4 separate regions of the Homo sapiens genome follow, and regions 2, 3 and 4 are each linked to region 1. Evidence: promoter capture Hi-C in human tissues and cell types (Jung and others, 2019). All regions are on one chromosome and are shown on one strand. The core of a region is centred on a gene start or on the middle of the fragment in contact, and the rest is flanking DNA. Distances in the headings are between cores, read along the strand shown.

Region 1 (4,561 bases), core at 707-3,206:
CCCGGGAGGCAGCGGTTGCAGTGAGCAGAGATCGCAGCACGGCACTCCAGCCTGGGCGACAGAGGAAGACTTTGTCACAAAAAAAAAAAAAAAACAAAAAAAAAACCAAAAGAAAAACAGCGGTGGGGGGGAAGGTTATGGTGTGGATTATGTAGTTGTATATGTTAAGTGTTAACTGTGACTATTTGTATGTACTGCGGTTAGCACTGTCCCTGGCAATAGGTTAGCGATGTTAAGGATGACAGTTATTATTATCTTACCAGTTGTCCCATCAAACTTAGCAATCATATTAAACTTGCAGTTAAACCCTAATTAATCTCTTACAAGAAACTCCAGTATAGAAGAGGGGAAATCCTATTAATTTCCTAACAAAGATATCCTTAAAGACTGTATACATCCAGAAAGGGCTGTAAAGTGTTATAAGTACTTTAAAGCGACAGATTGTTGGGGTTTTTTCCCCCTAAAACTTGTCAGTACCCATTTGTACTGAGACAGAAGGGAAACAAAGGCTGACACAGCTACTTCTTGAGGTTTCGTGTCTTTTAGTTACAGTAAAGGCACCAAAGAGATTTAGTCATTATGGTCAAAAATAATTTTTCAACTCCTTTCAGGTTGAAATTAAGGAGCCCAGCAAACAAGGACGTTGCAATGGCAGTTAGAAACAACAGTTTTGAAAGGGCAGATGAAACAGACTCGCTACAAGACAAGGGGATTGTTGAAAAGCCCTCCACAACAAAGGAAATGAACTCAAATCCCTAACCTGCGGGGCGTTCCAGCAACCCTGAGGCCAAAAATAAAGCTCTCTGATGAAAAGCCTCCGCGTGTTAGGCTTTGTGTAGGGAAAGAGAGTATCAAACAGAAGGTCGAAGGTTAAGTTGTTTTTCTTGTAGGAGGACCCTTTGACCACACTCGAGCCTGAAACAGAATGAGGATCTGGAAACCCCCACTCTGTCTTTTCTGTGCCACGCATCAGTCCTTTCAAGGAGAAAACTTCTTTTTAATAAACTTAGGTCAAGTGTCCCTTCTGTTCTAAGCATGGGGGTACTCGAGGTTAAATGAGAGGCTGCCAGTCCTTGGTAAACATCTAACTTTTCCAACTCAACCATATCTAAGGTTTCGGTAAAATTCTCCAGTGAAACATGAGAATTAGATAAAACATTCTTGCACCGTGATGGCTTTTGACAAATTAAACAAAGGGTGCATGTTTGCAAGAGTGCAAAAATACGCCTTGCCTTGACAGTTAAAAAATGTAATGTACGAAACCACTTTCCTTGACACTTCAAAAAATGTACGTGATTATCAACACCGAGCTGTTAGGGGGACTCCACCAAGGTGGGTCTTCTTTTCTATCGGGTTAAGAAACAGAAGTGGGCAGCCCGTGGGTGAAACTTGGAAATCTGTCTCTCCAGCGCAAAGCCTCCCTTGGACTTGGCACGGGTGTAGGGAGCGAGACACGGGTCCGCAGATGGGATTCTGGGGTTGCCACGACTCACCTCGCCAACTTCTCCAGTCTCGCAGCGCCCCGGCGGCCCGCTCGGGGGCGCGGACGCGGGGGCCGGCGCCTCCGAACTCCCGGGCTGGCCCCGGGGAGGGCGCCCGGCCCCGGCCAGCGCGCGGGGACAGGCGCGGGGTGGCGCTGCGGGGCGGACGCGGGGCGCGCGGGCAGCGCTGGGGGCTCAGCGCGGCCAGCGCGCAGGGACAGCAGCGCCAGCAGCAGCGCGGCCAGCGCGAGCAAGAGCAGCGCCGCCGCCTTGCTGCGGAGCTTCATGGTGCGGCGCGGCGGCGGCGGCGGCCCCCAGGCGGCTCGGCCCCTCTGCGCATCGCGGCGGCGGCAGGATGAGTGCAGCAGCGCGCGGCGGTCGCCTCCTCCGCCCGCCCGCCGGGGACTGGGGTCGTGGCGGCCGGCGGGCGGCCGGCGGCGGCGGCGACGGCGAAGGAGGAGGAGAGAGAGGAGAGGAGGGGGAGGCGGTGAGAGCTGGGTTACAGGAGGAGCAGCCTGCGCCTACCGTACTGTGTGGAGTAGCCGCCCCTCCGCCCGCCCGCAGCCAGGCTCTCGGGCTTCTGGTAGCTCAGACTCAAAACCACTTCATTCATTCATTCGTTCGTTCGTTCGTTTACTTCCCCATTCACTCACACACCCATGCCATCCACTGTTCCCGCTGATTCTCTCATACCATGATTCACTTATTTGTTGATGTATTCCATGTGCTTCCTCCTTATTTATTTTATCCATCTATCCACACATTTGTGCACTTATCCACACATCCTTTCAGGCAGGAACATCTCTGTCCTGTTTGCCCAGTGCAGGGATCTGCGGGTGGTGGTGCCCAATAAATATCTGTTGAATAAACCCCTATTGCCGCCTCTGTCTTGCCACCTCCCTTTTTCCTGGAGGAGGACATATTCAACAAGGACACATGCAAAATAAGGCAAAGCGAGTAAAAGTAACACGTGATTAGTAGTTGGGGTTTCAGACTCAAAACACCAAAGTAGAACTTGGGACAGCTAGACTGGACCGAACCGATCCATGTAGTCTGAAGAAATTAGAGAATGAATTTCAAAGTTTGGATTTGAAATCTGACACTGTGCTTAACTGGCTTGGTGATCCTGAGGAAGCTGCACAACTTTCTTAAGCCTTAACTTCCTTACGTGCAAAATGGGAATGACAATACTGCTCACTACAGAGGCGTTTTGTGAGCATTAAATTAAATAATGCCTTCAAAGAAACTAGCACAGTGCCTGGCTCACAGTCGGTGCCCAATAAAAGTTCTGTAATGATTAGTTCAATAAAACATAGCTTATAATATACACATAAACACACATTTTATTTTCTTTCTGGCACAGATTTGAGATAGAGTAATAATTTCACAACACAATGTAAGAATGGCTTCTTTGGAGACTTTAACAGCTGCAATCGCCAGATGAAGGTCGTAATTTCCAGACGATTCTTCCAGGGGATCCCCAGTTACAAATCTGAAACATTAGGACACATCCTCTTATGACTCACGGTGAACTGACAGCCAGGACTCCATTAACTCTCTTTTCAGCACACCACAGAACAAAGAACACTAGTTAAGTTATAACAACGTCCCTGAGTTTTTCAGTTTTTTTTTTTTTTTTTTTTTTGGATCACTCTGTAGCCCAGGCAGGAGTGCAATGGTGCAATCTTAACTCACCGCAGCCTCCGCCTCCCGGGTTCAAGCCATTCTCCTGCCTCAGCCTCCCAAGTAGCTGGGATTACAGGCTGCGCCACCACACCCGGCTGATTTTTGTATATTTAGTAGAGACGGGGTTTCACCACGTTGGCCAGGCTGGTCTTGAACACCTGACCTCAAGTGATCCGCCCGTCTCGTTCTTCCAAAGTGCTGGGATTACAGGCATGAGCCACCGCGCCCAGCCCGTCCCTGAGTTTCTACAAGATTCCATGTTGCTTTATAAATAATCTAAAATTTAGTTATATTCTGAATTATTCTCATATTAGCATTTTATTTTAATTCCTTGAGAACCCATTGTATTAAAAGTTCTAGAGATGAGAATATTTAGTAATTTGGAAGCTCTTGCCAAGCAGACATCTAGGAAATGGCAGGGTGCAAGTTCAGTGTGGGGGACATGTTGTAGGTGAGTAAGCGCAAAGAATCCATTAGTTCTCAAAGATGAGGGAGAAGGTTCCATCCTACCAGGAAGCATCTGGAATTGTGGGAAGGCTGACAGGTTCTACTAGCATATGCAAAACCTCCTGCAATGCTCAGGACATACCAACAACGAAAACTATCCTGGCCCAATGTGGGACCCTGTTGAGAAACACTAGGCCAGGCTAAGGCATGATGTTTAGATCTTTCAGGTTTAGAAATGGCCACCACTCTGTTGACATGTGGCCCAGAGAAGCAGGCATTCCCAACTCTGTCTTGCCCCCTCCCTTCTACCTCTAGGAGGACAGATGCAACAAGGATAAACAAAGGCAGAGTGAGTCAAAGTAACACTTGATTAGTAGCCAGGGTTTTAGCCTCAAACACCAAAGAATCATGGACCAAAGAGAGGACTCAGTTTTCTTGAACCTCACTGAAGCCAAAAAAAAAAGCCTAATCTGCCTCCTTCCACTGAGTCCAAACTCAACTTTTGGATTTGTTTGGATTGCTCTGATTGGTGGAAAACTACATCCTCTAATTTTTTTTTCTTTGGATGTGGTCAAATCTCATTTTAGTTGCAAAAGACTTCATTTACAGCACATTCAATAATGAACCAACAGGAGAGTTGCTGACTTTGGAACATATGAATATATAAAAATCCCTCGCAATTCAGGTAGTCAAGATAATAAGCACATACAAGGAAAGCAAACCTCATTTCTCTGAAAACGTTTACATTTTAAAAGATGACTAGGCATACTTGGACGTTCAAAGCAGTAGGATGTCCCTTGCAGGGAAAGAAGGAGGAAAACCCTTTTCCGTGTTGTTAGGCAAATGTATATCAAATATATCCCAATTCCACTTGATAAAGTCAGTTGGATGACCTCCTTGAACCAGGCTAGGGCAGAACACTTAAGAGGGCCTTGGGTGGGGATGTG
Region 2 (4,485 bases), core at 760-3,259, 1.1 Mb after region 1:
GGGCCGGTTGAGTCTACACACCAACCTCTGCTTTGAGTCATCCCTCCACTTCCAGAATGGGATGAAATGTCGCATGATGGAGCATGACATCTGGCTTCCTGGGCAGCCTCCAAGCACCAGATGCTGCAACCCAGAAGTGTGGGGAAATTAACTCCCCATGGATGCTCCCTAAATAAGGGAAAACAAGAGGTAGAATGAGCTGGGCAGATTAATTCCTCCTTCTTTCTATTTTCATGGCCTACTAAAAGACAGGGTTTCTTCCCACAGCCTTTCCAGAGCAGTCCCATGTCCCAGGCAGACTCACCTGCTAAGCCACCTGCTATGCCTCTTTTCAGCTCCTTGTAACATGGTGGCCCCACAGCAGTGTGTGACAGTCTCCTCACCATGCTTGGCTTCTTTATTTGCGATACTTCCCTTTTTAACTTACCTTTTAAACCTTGGACTTGCACCTCCGGAATTGTTAGCACTTTAGTTTTTGACTCAGGCTCTACTTTCTGGAGGACCTGGCCTTAGACAAGAGCTGAACTTCTTGGCCACTGCCTGCATCACTGACTTCATCTCTCTTTCTATGTACTGAACCCTTTCCTAGCTACCACCGCCTGCAGTGTCACAGATGTGACACATTCTTTCTTTCCTCTTCCAGGCCTTTGGACATGACCTCTCACCGCTTTCCTGGGGAAATCTTAGGTCTCACCTGGGAAGCATTTTTTTAGACGACTGTTGCATCAGACTGGTTCAGGTACCATGTTTAGATGCCCATGGCACACTGTGCCTTCCTGGGAAAGGGCTTATCCCTCTTGTTTACTTGTTTGTCTTCTCCACCTGGCAGGAAGTTATTCACTATGTACTCTAGCACCTGCTTCAATGCCTGACACGTAGTGTCCAATAAATATTTGATTGGATAAACGAATACATGTTTTCAAAAGGAGACAAATTCCCTGGAAAAGGTACACAAGCAAGAAAATTTTGCAAGTGTTCAATTTTTGTCTATGAAAGCTTTAGTATACTTTTTAAAAAACTGAAGCATATTACATTCCATTTTTTTCTTTCTCACTATGAATCTTCATAGAAGTAAATACTTTAAAGTATAGTTTAATGGGTAGGGGTTTGTTGTTTGTTTGTAAAAATTTATGGAGTACAAGTATAATTTTGTTACTTGTATAGATTTTGTAGTGGTGAAGTCAGGGCTTCTAGGGTATCCATCAACCCAAATTATGTACATTACGCCCGTTAAGAAATTTCTCATCATACACTTCTTTCCATACCCCATCCTTCCAAGTCTTCCATGTCTGTCTTTGCGTACTCTGTGCCCATGTGTACACATTATTTAGTTCCCACTTATAAGCGAAAACATGTGGTATTTATCTCTCTATTTCTGAGTGGTTTCACTTAAGCTGATGGTCTCCAGTTCCATCCATGTTGCTATGGAAGACATGACTTCATTCTTTTTTGTGTCTGCTTAGTATTCCATTGTGTATACATACCACAGTTTCTTTATCCATTCATCTATTGATGGAAATGGTTAGGTTTCATGGGTAGGTATAAGTCTGGTTCCAAAACTAGACCTTTATGTTCAAATCCCAGCTCTTCCACTGACCTGTTTTGGGTTTAGTGTGTGTGTATGTATGTAACTTGACATATACCTGGTTTCCTCATGTGAAACATGAAGTAAATAATAGTCTCCACCTCATAGGATTGTTGAGAGAGTAAATAGCTAATATAGCTGAAGGGCTTGGCATATGTTTTGACACTGTGCTGAAGAAGGCATTGGCTACCATTACTATTATTATTCGAAGAAGACATTTTTAGTTTCATCTCCTACATAATTTTGCAGCCCACTAGGTAGTATATTTCTGGCTGTAAGGCTTGGAAAAACCCATCCTAAATGACATAAAAAATAAGGTGGCTGGGCATGGTGGCTCAAGCCTATAATCACAGTACTTTGGGAGACCGAGGCAGGTGGGTGGCTTCAATTCAGGAGTTGGAGACCAGCCTAGGCAACATAGTGAAATCCTATCTGTTAAAAAAGTACAAAAATTAGCCAGGTGTAGTGGCGCATGCCTGTAGTCCCAGCTACATGAGGGGCTGAGACAGGAGGCTTATTTCAGCCTGGGAGGTTGAGGCTTCAGTGAGCCCTCTTGCTGCCACTACACTCTAGCCTAGGCAACAAAATGAGACCCTGTCTTAATAATAATAATAATAATAATAATAATAATAATAATAATAATAATAATGAAATGGCTGGGCTCAGTGGCTCATGCCTATAATCCCAGCACTTTTGGAGGCCGAGGAGGGAGGGTTGCTTGAGGCCAGGAGTTTGAGACCAGCATGGGCAACATGGTGAAACCCCATCTCTATAAAACACTTCAAAAATTAGCCAGACGTGGTGGCACACGTCTGTAGTCCCAGCTACTCAGGAGGCTAAGGTGGGAGGATCACTTGATCCTGGGAGGTCAAGGCTGCAGTGAGCCCAGATCACACGACTGCACTCCAGCCTGGGCAACAGAGCAAGACCTTGTCTCAAAAATAAATAAATAAAAAATAAGACAGTAAGGAAATGTATTATCTTACCTAACTGGAAGGAGTGGCACCATCAGTAGCTGAAAGATGTCGTCAGATAACTGACTCTCTCCGTCTTTCTCATGATGTTGTAAGCCTCATTTCCAAGTGCCTCATAATAACAAGACAGTTGTCAGTGGCAACTGGAGCTACATACTTCTTTGTTCTCAACTACCTGGTCAAAAATGGAAAAACCACATCTCCAAGTGTGTAATATAAATGTTTCCTTCATTTTGATTGAACCAGTCCTAGTCACAGGACCAATGAGTCATGCAGGCAGGTGATGGGGGAATGGCACATGCCAATAGCCTCCTTAAGATTCACTCCTGGCCTGGCGCGGTGGCTCACGCCTGTAATCTCAGCACTTTGGGAGGCCGAGGTGGGCAGATCACGAGGTCAGGACATCGAGACCATCCTGGCCAACATGGTGAAACCCCGTCTCACTAAAAATACAAAAAATTAGCCGGGCATGGTGGTGGGTGCCTATAGTCCCAGCTACTTGGGAGGCTGAGGCAGGAGAATTGCTTGAACCGGGGAGGCAGAGGTTGCAGTGAGCCGAGATTGTGCCGCTGCACTCCAGCCTGGCGACAGAGTGAAACTCTGTCTCAAAAAAAAAAAAAAAGATTTACTTCTAGAGTCTCGGGTCACATTCTTCTAAGCTATACTTGGTCAGAATCGGAGTTGTGTTAGGAAGAAAGACACAAGTGAATGGATGCGGGGCAATCAGTGTTCACCAATGTACTATTGCTCTCAGAAAATATGGAGATGCCTCTTTTTTCATATTTTAAAAAACTTCTCAATTTTTAATTTTTTTTAAGTTTTAAATTTTTGGAAATAATTGTTTTGTTTTGTTAGTTTTTAGAAAAAGGATCTCACTCTGTTGCCCAGGCAAGAGTGCTGTGGCATGATGACAGCTTACTGCAGTCTCCGACTTCTGGGCTCAAACAGTCCTTCCGCCTCAGCTTCACAAAGTGCTGGGATTACAGGCATGAGAGAGGATGAATTCTAACACATTACATTGTGGTTAGAAACTATGTTACCAGATATAAGAAATAAAATAAAATTACATCTTCATATGTATATTTTATATATTTATAGCTAGCATTTATTGAGTGATTGCTTTGTGCCAGATCTGGCTTTGTGCCAGATAGTCACTCAGATACTATTAAGTGATTGCTTTGTGCCAGATACTACCCATCATTTCCATCAGCCTTCACAAATACCCTTATTTATTTCCTCAGAAAATACTTATGAAGCCCCTACCATACTTCAGGCACTGTCTTGTCACTGGGAATATAGCAACAGCAGGAAAAGACCAAGACCCAGTCCCTCATGGAAACTACATTCGAGAAATAGGAAACTGTGGCTGAGAGGGATTGAGTGAATTGCCCAAAGTTACACAGCTTGAATGTAGCAGAGTCGAGATTTGAACTTCAGAAGTCTAATCTAACTCCAAAGTCAAGAATGGGTGTATTAGTCTGTTCTTGCACTACTATAAAGAAATACCTGAGACTGGGTAATTTATAAAGAAAAGAGGTTTAATTGGTTCATGATTCCTCAGGCTTTACAGGAAGCATACTGGCTTCTGCTTTTGGGGTGGCCTCAGGAAATGTACAATCATGGCAGAATGTGAAGGGGAAGCAGGCACATGTTACATGGCCACCCCAGGAGGAAGAGAGAAATGGGGGAGGTGCCACACAGCTTTAAACAACCAGATCTTGTGAGAACTCACTCGCTATACTGTACCAAGGGGGGATGGTACTAAACCATTCATGAGAAACCCGCCCTCATGATCCAATCACCTCCCGCAAGTCCCACCTCCAGCATTGGGGGTTGTAATAATTCCAGTTCTCAGCCAATGGCAGGCTTCCTTCTTTCAAGCCTTGACTTTTCAGGGGAGAGCTCTCTGGGGCCTGGAGGAGGCAT
Region 3 (4,982 bases), core at 1,696-4,195, 1.2 Mb after region 1:
TAATAAGGAGTTTGGTTTTATTAATGATTTTCCCTCAGAATGAAAAATAGGAAATTATTTGCATCATTAACTGTGCTTTTGCAAACTATGAAAAACATGATACTGCATTTAATTGACAAATTTATGTTTCATGTGTTATAAAATATTTTAGTCCAATAAGGCAAGCAGACATGACCCTTAGGCATTTTAGGAATGATAGGGACTCATCCCAAATTTAGGATAATTCACAGTGTATTTCTGAGTGACCTGGTAGGTTTTGAAAGGACGAAAGTGACTCAGCTATCTCCAAGATCATTGTCAACCACAGTATATATTTGTGACATCAAATACTTGTATAAAGTCATCTGAGGGATACCATGTTCATCATAGCCTCCATGAGAGCTCCTCTTTTGTAATGATGACCTAGTATGATCAATATGTGCATCTTTTTAGCCTCTGGGAATAAGATACTGTCTTACCACAAACACTAAGAAAATTTAAAGCAAATACCATAAGGTGCAACCTGCCATTATGTAGATAATATGTAACTAATAAGAATGAACAGGAAAAGAGTGAAAAATTAACAGGATCTTTCTGTATTGTGAGTATGCAATTCCTGCTGATGGTAAAACAAAAGAGATTCAGTAACTGAAGGGGTCTCATTGGCCTAAACACTGCAAGTGTCCTTCTGTTTCTGAATGGTGCATTTTGCACAGTAGTTAGAGTTCTAAAAATGTCATGTAATTATGATTTTTTTTAGAAAACAAATAATGCAGCTTCCTTTCAAGAATTGCTTTATTTTCCTTTACTAATTGTTCATCAATTGATAATGGCTTCTCAAACTTTAGTGTACTTAGCTCTTAAGAAGTAAATGACTTATAAAGTATTTCAATCTACACTTTAATGAATGGTTTTAAATCACAGAAGGATTCATTATTCAGATATTTATTGACTTCCCAGTACATGAGCAGTACTTTATAATAGTCTCTGAGGACCTCAAAGGTGAGCTCCCCACCCCTCAGGAAGCTTGGGTTAAATATGGTACAGGGAAAGATGGTACAGGAGGTCTTTTTGCAGCCTGACTCATAACCTCCTAATATTTTGCCAAATCAGCTTATATTTTCTGTATCAAGATTTCTTATGTCATAAATATGATTATTTCAGCTTAAAATAAAGCTTCGGAAAGCACAATACACTTCCTCAGAGAACTGGCTTACAAAATGTTCCCCTAAATGATCTATGAACCGTAAATGAAATCCCCAAAACAAAATCTTATCCTTAAAGCAGCTTCTTAGATGTAAACAAATGACTTGCTTGCTGTTGATTTATCCCACTAGGCGAGCAGTTATCAGCTCATAGTGGGGATTAGAGGCCTCCAAGATGGTTGCTGAAATCCTCTGGAACAGGCAGTGCTCCAGGACCCGCTCCTTGTGTATCTACCGTTCGGGTTTTCCCAGGACCAAAGGGTTTTCTGGGACTCAGAACTTTCAGTGCTCAAATTGGAACAGTCCTAGGCAAATTGGGACAGTTGTTCACTCCACCTGTCTCTAGATCCCCAACGAGCATACAAAGGAGGACACTCGTATTCAAAAAGCAGAGAAGATGTAGGGTTATCCCCTCCAGGAACTGTGATAAGGAAACGAGAATCAACACTTGGGTGACCTTTTTTTGACTTTTATGTAGAGCCTCACCAAATGTTCCTGATTTGATCCTTCAGGCAGCACTGCAAAGCAGGTGTTATTGGCACACTCATTTTTTAATTGAGAAAAAAGGAGACTCAGAGGTTCACCGATTTGTCCCAAAGCACATGGCTGTTAGACATTGGCTCAAGCACATGTTTTTGGACTTTCCTCTGATCACATTGCCTCCCTACTGCTCATCGTTTCCTTTCTTTTAAAAATTGCTGAAGACCAATTTGAGGCCTGCCGGCTCTCCCCTTCAGTCCAGTTTCTGATGTAAGCTATCTCTGTATCTCTGATTGATTGGCTGGCCAGGAATGTTCAGAACTACTCTTTGATAAGAAGCCAGTGATTGGCAGAGTGTTTATTACAGGGTTGCACATGATAGCCACAATCACTGGTAATAATCTGTGTGCCTAACAGGAGGAGTTGGTTATACAAATCATTACTCCTCCAATCAGTGGAATTCTGTGTGGCCACAACAAAGGTCTTTAATCAGAGCTCTTAGACTGGCCACAAAACCTATATACTGACATCGTTGGGACTTTTTTTTTTTAAATCAGGGAAGAGATTTTTTTTTAAATCAGGAAAGTAGTTTGGGCACTGCCCAGCTGTGTCTCTAGAACTCTGTGAATCTCTTGTCCCTATCTGGGGTGTGTTTGGTGACTGATTCCCTGTGAGGGAACTTGGCCTGGCCCTTGAAGGATGGTTAGACAATTTAGATGGTCAGAGGAGAGAAGAAAGGTCTCAGGCAAAAGTGTGGAGATATGAGTACATATGGTGTGTTTACCAAGTGGGGAGTAAGCCCATCATTGATTCAGTAAAGCTGGGTCTCCCATGTGCCAGACACCGTGCTAGGAACCCAGAAGACAGTGGTGGAGGGGGTGGGCCCAGGCCTGTCTTCGGGAGCTCATGTTGTGGCAGAGCTGAAAATGCACCAAGAAATAGGGACAAATCTGTTTGGAATATATATATTTCCATGTATAGCTGTTTCTCCAAATATATAGATTTAACATATATATTCCAAGTATATGTAAATATAGGTGTATAATTATATCTCTCTAAATATATTTGGAAATATACTCGCAAATGCATTTGAAAAAGGGGGTCAAGGTGTGGACAATTTCAAAGGCTAGATTCCAGATTTCAGACCTCAGCCTGTGAGAAACAGGCAGCGCTTTAGGGCTTTTGAACAAAGAAGTAATAGGACAAAAGTGCTTTTTAGGAAGACCAACATGCCGTCCATGAGAAAGATACACTGGCAGAGGAGAAAGACAAGAAATTAGGAGACAAAGTCACAGACTCTTCCTTTCAACCAATATCTGCTGTATACCCAGTTTGTTTCCTTAATAAATGTTGCTGGTGTGCCAGCCATGGACAGGCCCTGCACTAGGCACTGGGTGGACAAAGGTGGACAAGAGAGGCCTGGCCCTCCCCACTTGGACTGGATATTCTGTTTCGGAAGATCGGCAGTTGATGTGTGCAGCTGACACGTGCACTGAAAAAAATAATGAGGAAGGGGAGAAGACCTGCTTTAGAGTGGAGGCCTAAGGCAGGAGAAGGAGTCAGCCATGCAAGCGGAGGGACTAGCAGTTCAGGAGAAAGAACAGCATATGCAGGTGCCCTGTGGCCACAGAGAAGCTTTGAGGCAGGGGGAGAGATCAGCCATGGATTTGGAAAGGCAGGAAGGATCCAGAAGATGCCAAGTACTGTTGGCCACCAGAAAGAGTCTGGGTTTTTTTCTGAGAGCAGGCAGAAGCAAACCAGTGTTTGAGGACTGTTGTTCAGGCTGCTGTCTGGCAGGAGATGAGAGGGTCGGGTGTTAGAAGCAGGGAGACCCGTTAGGAGGCTGTTGCAGTCCTCCAGGCCATGCTTGGCTGACTCAGGAGTGAGGACTGGGAGTGGCTGGCACCAGTGGGAATAAAGAAGGAAGAGCAGGCTAGGCACTGTGGCTCACGTCTGTAATTCCAGCATTTTGGAAGGCTGTTGTGGGAGGATCACTTGAGGCCAGGAGTTCAAGACCAGCCTGAACAACATGGTGAAACCCTGTCTCTACAAAAAATTTAAAAATTAGCAGGGCATGGTGGCATGTGCTTGTAGCTACTGGGGAAGCTGAGATGGGAGGATTGCTTGAGCCTGGGAGGCCGAGGCTGCATGAGCCAAGATTGTGCCACTCCACTCCAGCCTGGGCAACAGAGCAAGACTCTGTCTCAAAAAAAACAACAACAATAATAATAGAGAAAAAGAAAAAAAGAAGGAAGACCAACACACGGATTGCAGGCAGATCAGGACGAGAACTCAATGTCTGATAGGTGGATGGATGTGGAGAGTGGGACAACCAAACCTCAAGGCCACATTTTCCAGGCTCAATGACCACATGGACCTCAGTGTCCTCACTGCAGATGCTTAACACATGCCATTTCCTTTGCCCCTTTCTCTTCCATTAGCAGCTCTGAACAAGAGAGGCCTGGCCTGGCCCCTAAAAGATCTTCAGAGGTCTTTTGGAATCTAGATAAATAACACTAGTTGAGCTTTTTCTATGTGCAACTTGCAAGGTGCTTTATAGACAATGTTTTCTTATACATGGCTCAGAGCAGTCCCTTGAGAGTGCTCTTGTTATCTGTACCCTAGATGAGGAATCTGGAGCTCAGCAAGGTTAATAACTTCCCAGAGTCACAGGGTTTACCTATGGCAGGATCTTGGTTAGAGCAGGGATCAGTCTCACTCTGAAGCAATCACTCTTGAACCACACCGCAGCCTCCCCTGACCCGTGAGTATCCCAGAATAGTGTCAAGTCTCCCCTACCTTTCCAAGCCATTGCTCTAGGACTGACCAGCTGCAACACACCTTTGCTGGAAGCTTCAGTGAGGGCCTCTGCCCCAGGCCAGTCCCTTCCTGTGCCCTGTACCTACCGGCACTGAAGACTGCCATCTAGTGGCCATTGCCTTCCTTTTTCTTTTGCTGTTAAAGGAAAACGGAGTTCCCACATAAAAGACAGGCCTGCATATTTATAGTATCACACCCTGTAAACAGGAAACTTCTCAGTGTTAGAGAAGGAGCCCAGCAACATAAACAGCATATTGCCAATGAGTTCCGCCACCCATTCAACAAACACTTAAATACACACACACACACACACACACACACACACACACACACACATTCTATTGGAATGTAGGCTCCCAGAGAGAGGAATTTCTTTTGTCTGTATTGCTAATGAACCTGGAGAGCTTAGAACAGTGGCATTTGCATAGCAGATATGCAACAAATATTTATTGAGTGTGGAATGAATGAACGCCTGACATTTACTGTATCTTTACTATA
Region 4 (4,682 bases), core at 189-2,688, 1.0 Mb after region 1:
CAACTAGCCCACCTGTTGAAGAGAATCTCTACTTTACAAAAGAACACCAGTTAATGAACGTAGAAGAAACGATAAAGGTTGAAAACCTGATCTTGCAAAACCTAATGAAATTATTGATTTAGGCAAGATTTATATATTAAGTGAGTGGGATACAGAACAAGACATAGGACCAAAGTAACATTATATAAATTCCTTTCTGATCATGTGTCAGTTATTTATTGCTGAGTAACAAATCATTCAAAGAATCTAGTGGCTAAAAACAATAATCATTTCTTATTCTTTATTACTCTGTGGGTCAGCTGGTTGGTTCTTCTGTCTGGGCCAAATTTATTGGTCTCTACGGACAGCTGGTGGCCCAGCTGGGGCTGATGGATCCCAGATGACCTCACTCAAATGTCTGGCAGTTAGCAGAGATGGCTGGATGGCTGAGGCCTCCCTTCACATGGTCTGTTGAGATGATCTAGGATGGCTTGACTCACATCTCTGGGAACTCATCTGGACTAGCTGGGGCCATGCTCCATGTGGTGTCTCATCCTCCAGTAGGCTGGCCTGAGCTCCTTCACGTGGTGGTCTCGAGGTTTCAATAGCAAAAGAGGGAAAGCCCTGGTACACAAGCATTTTCCGAGCCTCTGATTGCATGATGTTTATTAGTATCCTATTGGCTGAACAAAGTTGCATAGTGATGCCCAGATTCAAGAGATGGAGAAATGGACTCATTCTCTAGTTAGTATGTCTAGTAGAATTTTCTTCAATGAAAGAAATATTTCATATCTGCCCTGTCTAAGTGGTAGCCACTAGCCACATGGGGCTATTGAGCACTTGAAATGTGGCTAATACAACTGAGGAACTGAATTTTTCATTTTAATTTATTTAAGCTTAAATTTAAATGGGTACATGTGGCTGGTAGCTACCACACTGAGTAGTGTAGTTCTAGATACAGAATCCCTTATGGTATATTCTAGCCAAAAATGCTTGTCTTGAATCCATCAGTCCTTTAGATCTAACCTATCATTTGCAGGAGATGGAGGGGTACAGGAATCAGCTACATGGCACAGTAAGGAAGCAATCAGACAAATCTAGAAGGTGAGATATTCCACAGGAAAACCAGTCCAGTGTCCTCAACAAGCCAATGTCATCAAAAAGGAAATCAGGATAGACTGGGTAGAAATAAGGACTATATCAGCCAGATTTGATTCTTGAGAGGATTTCTGGAGAGGACAAGCCAGTTATAAAGGTCTTTTTAGCTTAATTGGTGAAATTTGAATATGGTTTAGCTATTCAATGACATAAAAATATACTGAGTGGGCCAGACACAGTGGCTCGGCTGAGGTGGACAGATCACTTGAGCCCAGGAATTCAAGACCAGCCTGGGCAACATAGTGATGCCCTGTCTCTACAAAAAATACAACAACAACAACAACAACAAAATTAGCCCAGTGTGACAGTAGTTGTAGTCCTAGTTACCCAAGACACTGAGGTGGGAGGATCACCTGAGCCCAGGAGGTAGAGGCTGCAGTGAGCAGTGTTTGCGCTACCGTACTCCAGCCTGGGCGGCAGAGTGAGACCCTGTCTCAAAAAAAAAGTACTGAAGTGGAAAGGTAAAGATCATTGGCTGAAAATGTAAGTTTTAAGACAGTAAGTGGAGTGTCATCTCACACTGGTAAAGCAGAATACATACTAATATGTGTGTATATAAATACAAATATATGTACAAATACATAAAGATTCGGAAGCATATGGACGAAGATCTAACATATGGTGATTCTGGGTGATGGTAAGGTGAAGTTTTTGTTTGTGTTTCCTAATTTTCTATAAATATAAATGCACTGCTTCTATACTAGTGAAGAGGTTATTCAATATAAAAGAGATAAAGACGCTACTAAGTGTCTCGGAGGTGCCAGAGACAAGCAGCTATTTTACAGTGTTTATGCGCGTGCGTTTGTTTAGGAAATGCTCTATCCCGATAACGTTGCAGATAATACGTGCGGACAAGGGGAGACCTATGAGGCTCAGCAGCTGCTGAAAGGGTTTAGCTAATCTCGAGGATCTGGTAAGTGGATCACTTCCTTGTGACACCACAGAAGCTCCAGCCATCAATTTGGATTAGTCAGTCAGCATATCCCATTGGGCAGCATGTTCTAGAGTGTTCTAGTATGAATCATTCATGGAGGCTTCTGGTTATGTTACTTGGTTTCCCTCAGAAATAATGGCCCCAGGGATTGAATGCTGTGTAACAGAGAAAGTGAATAAATTGGTGCAGGCCCTGCCAGGTGTCAAACAAATAGGAATATATCACAGGAAAAGTGCTCCATCTATAATTAATGACAACATTTTTAAGCTTTACCAGAAATTGATAATACAGTGGTTTCTTTTAATGCATTTTCCCTTTAGTAATGTGTACATATTTTAAAGTAGGTCTAGCATTAAATATACATCAAACTCTTCTTATAGAAAAATGTAATCGTTGAATAGAAAAATATTATATTTATAAATATCTCATTGTTACATTTTATGCAATTATTCACTCTGGGTGTTCAGTGTAGAAGTTTCAGGAATATAATACTTGTCACAGAAAGCATATTCAAGACTATCAAGTAAAAAAGCAAACTTATGACTGCCAATTTTTTTGAACTTTTGGCATAATTTCCAAATTGCTACTGTCATAATAAAAATCTAGATTGCCACTAGTTTGTCTTGGAATTACATGGCTATCTTTTAAAATAAGCATATATTGTCATTTCTGAGTTACAAACCCATTTAGGTAGCTTAATCTTTCTAGCAGTCAACTGAATAATTAAATAGTAAGGTAAGAGCTTTTATTATCCCTCAAATCTGCAATTGAACATTTGCCATGAAACAAATGGATACATTTCTCTTCAGGATCCATTAGGGAGAAAGGGGAATTTTAAAACTCTTAAAGTCTAGCAAACAGCAGTTGTTCAAGTGTTAAGTTCTACCAAATAAAATTAAGTGAAATCAAATTCTCTTCCCATTTGTATACTTTATGTCTTTGTTCAAATTGCTTGTTCTGAGACACAATAGGCTGTCACACCTGTCCCCTAAATTTCCAAAACATTAAGTCATCACTCTATTGTCTAACTTCTATTAGTGCCATATGCATTCTCCCTTAAATTTGAGAGTAAACACAAGCTTTAACAAGTTCCCAAAATCATCTTATTTTTTTCAAGAGTCTCCAACAGTCAACATTGTTATCAAGTCCCTAAGAATATTATTGTTTCATTATAGTTCATTTGCAATTGATACACAATATGATTTTTTGGTTATAGACAAAGAACAAGAATGATTTTGTGCACCTTTGTATTTATAAGTGGTCTCTCAAACTGCTGGCCCAGGGATCCATCAATAAACATCCATCAGGTTTATTGAGCATAGTTATCTACAAAGTGTTTCATCTAAATGAGGAAGGTGGTGGGCATCACAGGAGGAGAAAGGCAAAGCCTTCAGAGCTAGATAGTGTGCATTGCACATATTCATTCTTCTATATACAACAAGAACTTGCAATACACCAAGCATCATGCTAGGTGTTAGAGACACAGCAGTGAACAACACAGGCACTCACGTAATTTTCAGACTGCTGGGAGCACCAGATATTTGAAGTAACTATGCAATTAATTAACTGCAATCATGAGAAGTGATATGAAATACACACATGATAAGAGTATGTAACAAGGCAACCTGACCTGTTGGGGACAGAAAATGAGGGCTGAATGGTGGGCAGGGGATCACTTAGGAAAGGCTTAACTAAGCAAAGAGAAGGAGGAGAAGGAGTTAGTAGATGAAGAGCAGAGAGTATTACAGACAAGGAGGGAACAGCATGTACTAAGGCCCTGGGGTGGGAAGGAGCATAGCAGTTCTAGGAATTGAAAGAAAGCAAGGATGGTTGAAATGCAGAGACTGAATAAGAGAATGGCAGGATATGGCCAGAAAGAAGCAGAGGTCAAGGAGATGATACAGGTCACCCAAAAGACACCATGTAAATTTCATTTTCTGGGGTTAGGTTTGAGAAAAAAGGAAAGATTGGGCCAAATAGTTAGGCTTTAATATAATAAACAACAGTGCCCCCATTTGAGTAGGAGAAAAAACTTTCTGTCAATGGTATTTGAGCAATAGAGCATAGCTAGGTTGGTAAAAGGGGAAAAAAATACGCAATCTGAAGAGAAACCAGAGTATTAGCCAGGCTGGGATCAGGAGTGAGACTGGAGACAGAGCTTCCAGCTCAGAGGATCTGCAGAACTCTGTCCAAGGGGCTTATGAGTAGACGTGGAAGGAAAAAAGGAAACGTGCAGCTGAGACACATTCATTAGAGGGACAAGAACCCACTGGCTTTGTGAGAGAACAGAGGAAAGGAGGGAAGGAGAGAGAGGAATTGAAACAAAGCAAAGAATATGAACAATGCTCATGGCATTGATTCACCAATAATTGATAGGAGTTGGTGGAAAATACCCCTCATCTTCATGAGTCGTGTTCTGTAGCATCTCCCAGAGGTCCCCAGTGGGATTGAGTCTTCGTTTTTACATTTCTTCTTCTTTTTGTTTTTGTTTTGCTTTGTTTGAAATGAGGTCTCACTCTGTCACCCAGGCTGGAGTGCAGTGGCACGATCATAGTTCACTGCAGCCTCAACCTCCCAGGCTCAAGCGATCCTCCCACCTCAGCCTCCCAAG

What was found. The method cuts DNA at HindIII sites, captures the fragments that hold promoters and counts their contacts. A contact is called where the count stands out against the background at its distance.
Region 2: a fragment that was not itself captured here is called in contact with the fragment with the promoter of GXYLT2 in region 1 in 1 of the 25 tissues and cell types used here (lymphoblastoid cells).
Region 3: a fragment that was not itself captured here is called in contact with the fragment with the promoter of GXYLT2 in region 1 in 1 of the 25 tissues and cell types used here (adrenal gland).
Region 4: a fragment that was not itself captured here is called in contact with the fragment with the promoter of GXYLT2 in region 1 in 1 of the 25 tissues and cell types used here (dorsolateral prefrontal cortex).

Annotation. Positions count from the first base shown.
Region 1 is chr3:72,885,441-72,890,001 of GRCh38, reverse strand. GXYLT2 (glucoside xylosyltransferase 2) reads right to left here and starts at 1,956. Exons shown (of 7, transcript NM_001080393.2): 1 at 1,494-1,956. The coding sequence starts at 1,768. RefSeq lists silencers at 1,457-1,586, 1,687-1,916. The HindIII fragment of the contact is 12,200 bases long and covers 1-4,561 here.
Region 2 is chr3:71,805,117-71,809,601 of GRCh38, reverse strand. No RefSeq gene overlaps it. Among named protein-coding and RNA genes, the nearest start is that of PROK2, 22 kb to the right of the region's middle. The HindIII fragment of the contact is 7,193 bases long and covers 1-4,485 here.
Region 3 is chr3:71,729,637-71,734,618 of GRCh38, reverse strand. It overlaps a transcript of EIF4E3 not described here. Among named protein-coding and RNA genes, the nearest start is that of EIF4E3, 6.7 kb to the right of the region's middle. RefSeq lists an enhancer at 4,427-4,721. The HindIII fragment of the contact is 3,729 bases long and covers 1,081-4,809 here.
Region 4 is chr3:71,843,747-71,848,428 of GRCh38, reverse strand. No RefSeq gene overlaps it. Among named protein-coding and RNA genes, the nearest start is that of PROK2, 61 kb to the right of the region's middle. The HindIII fragment of the contact is 5,285 bases long and covers 1-4,080 here.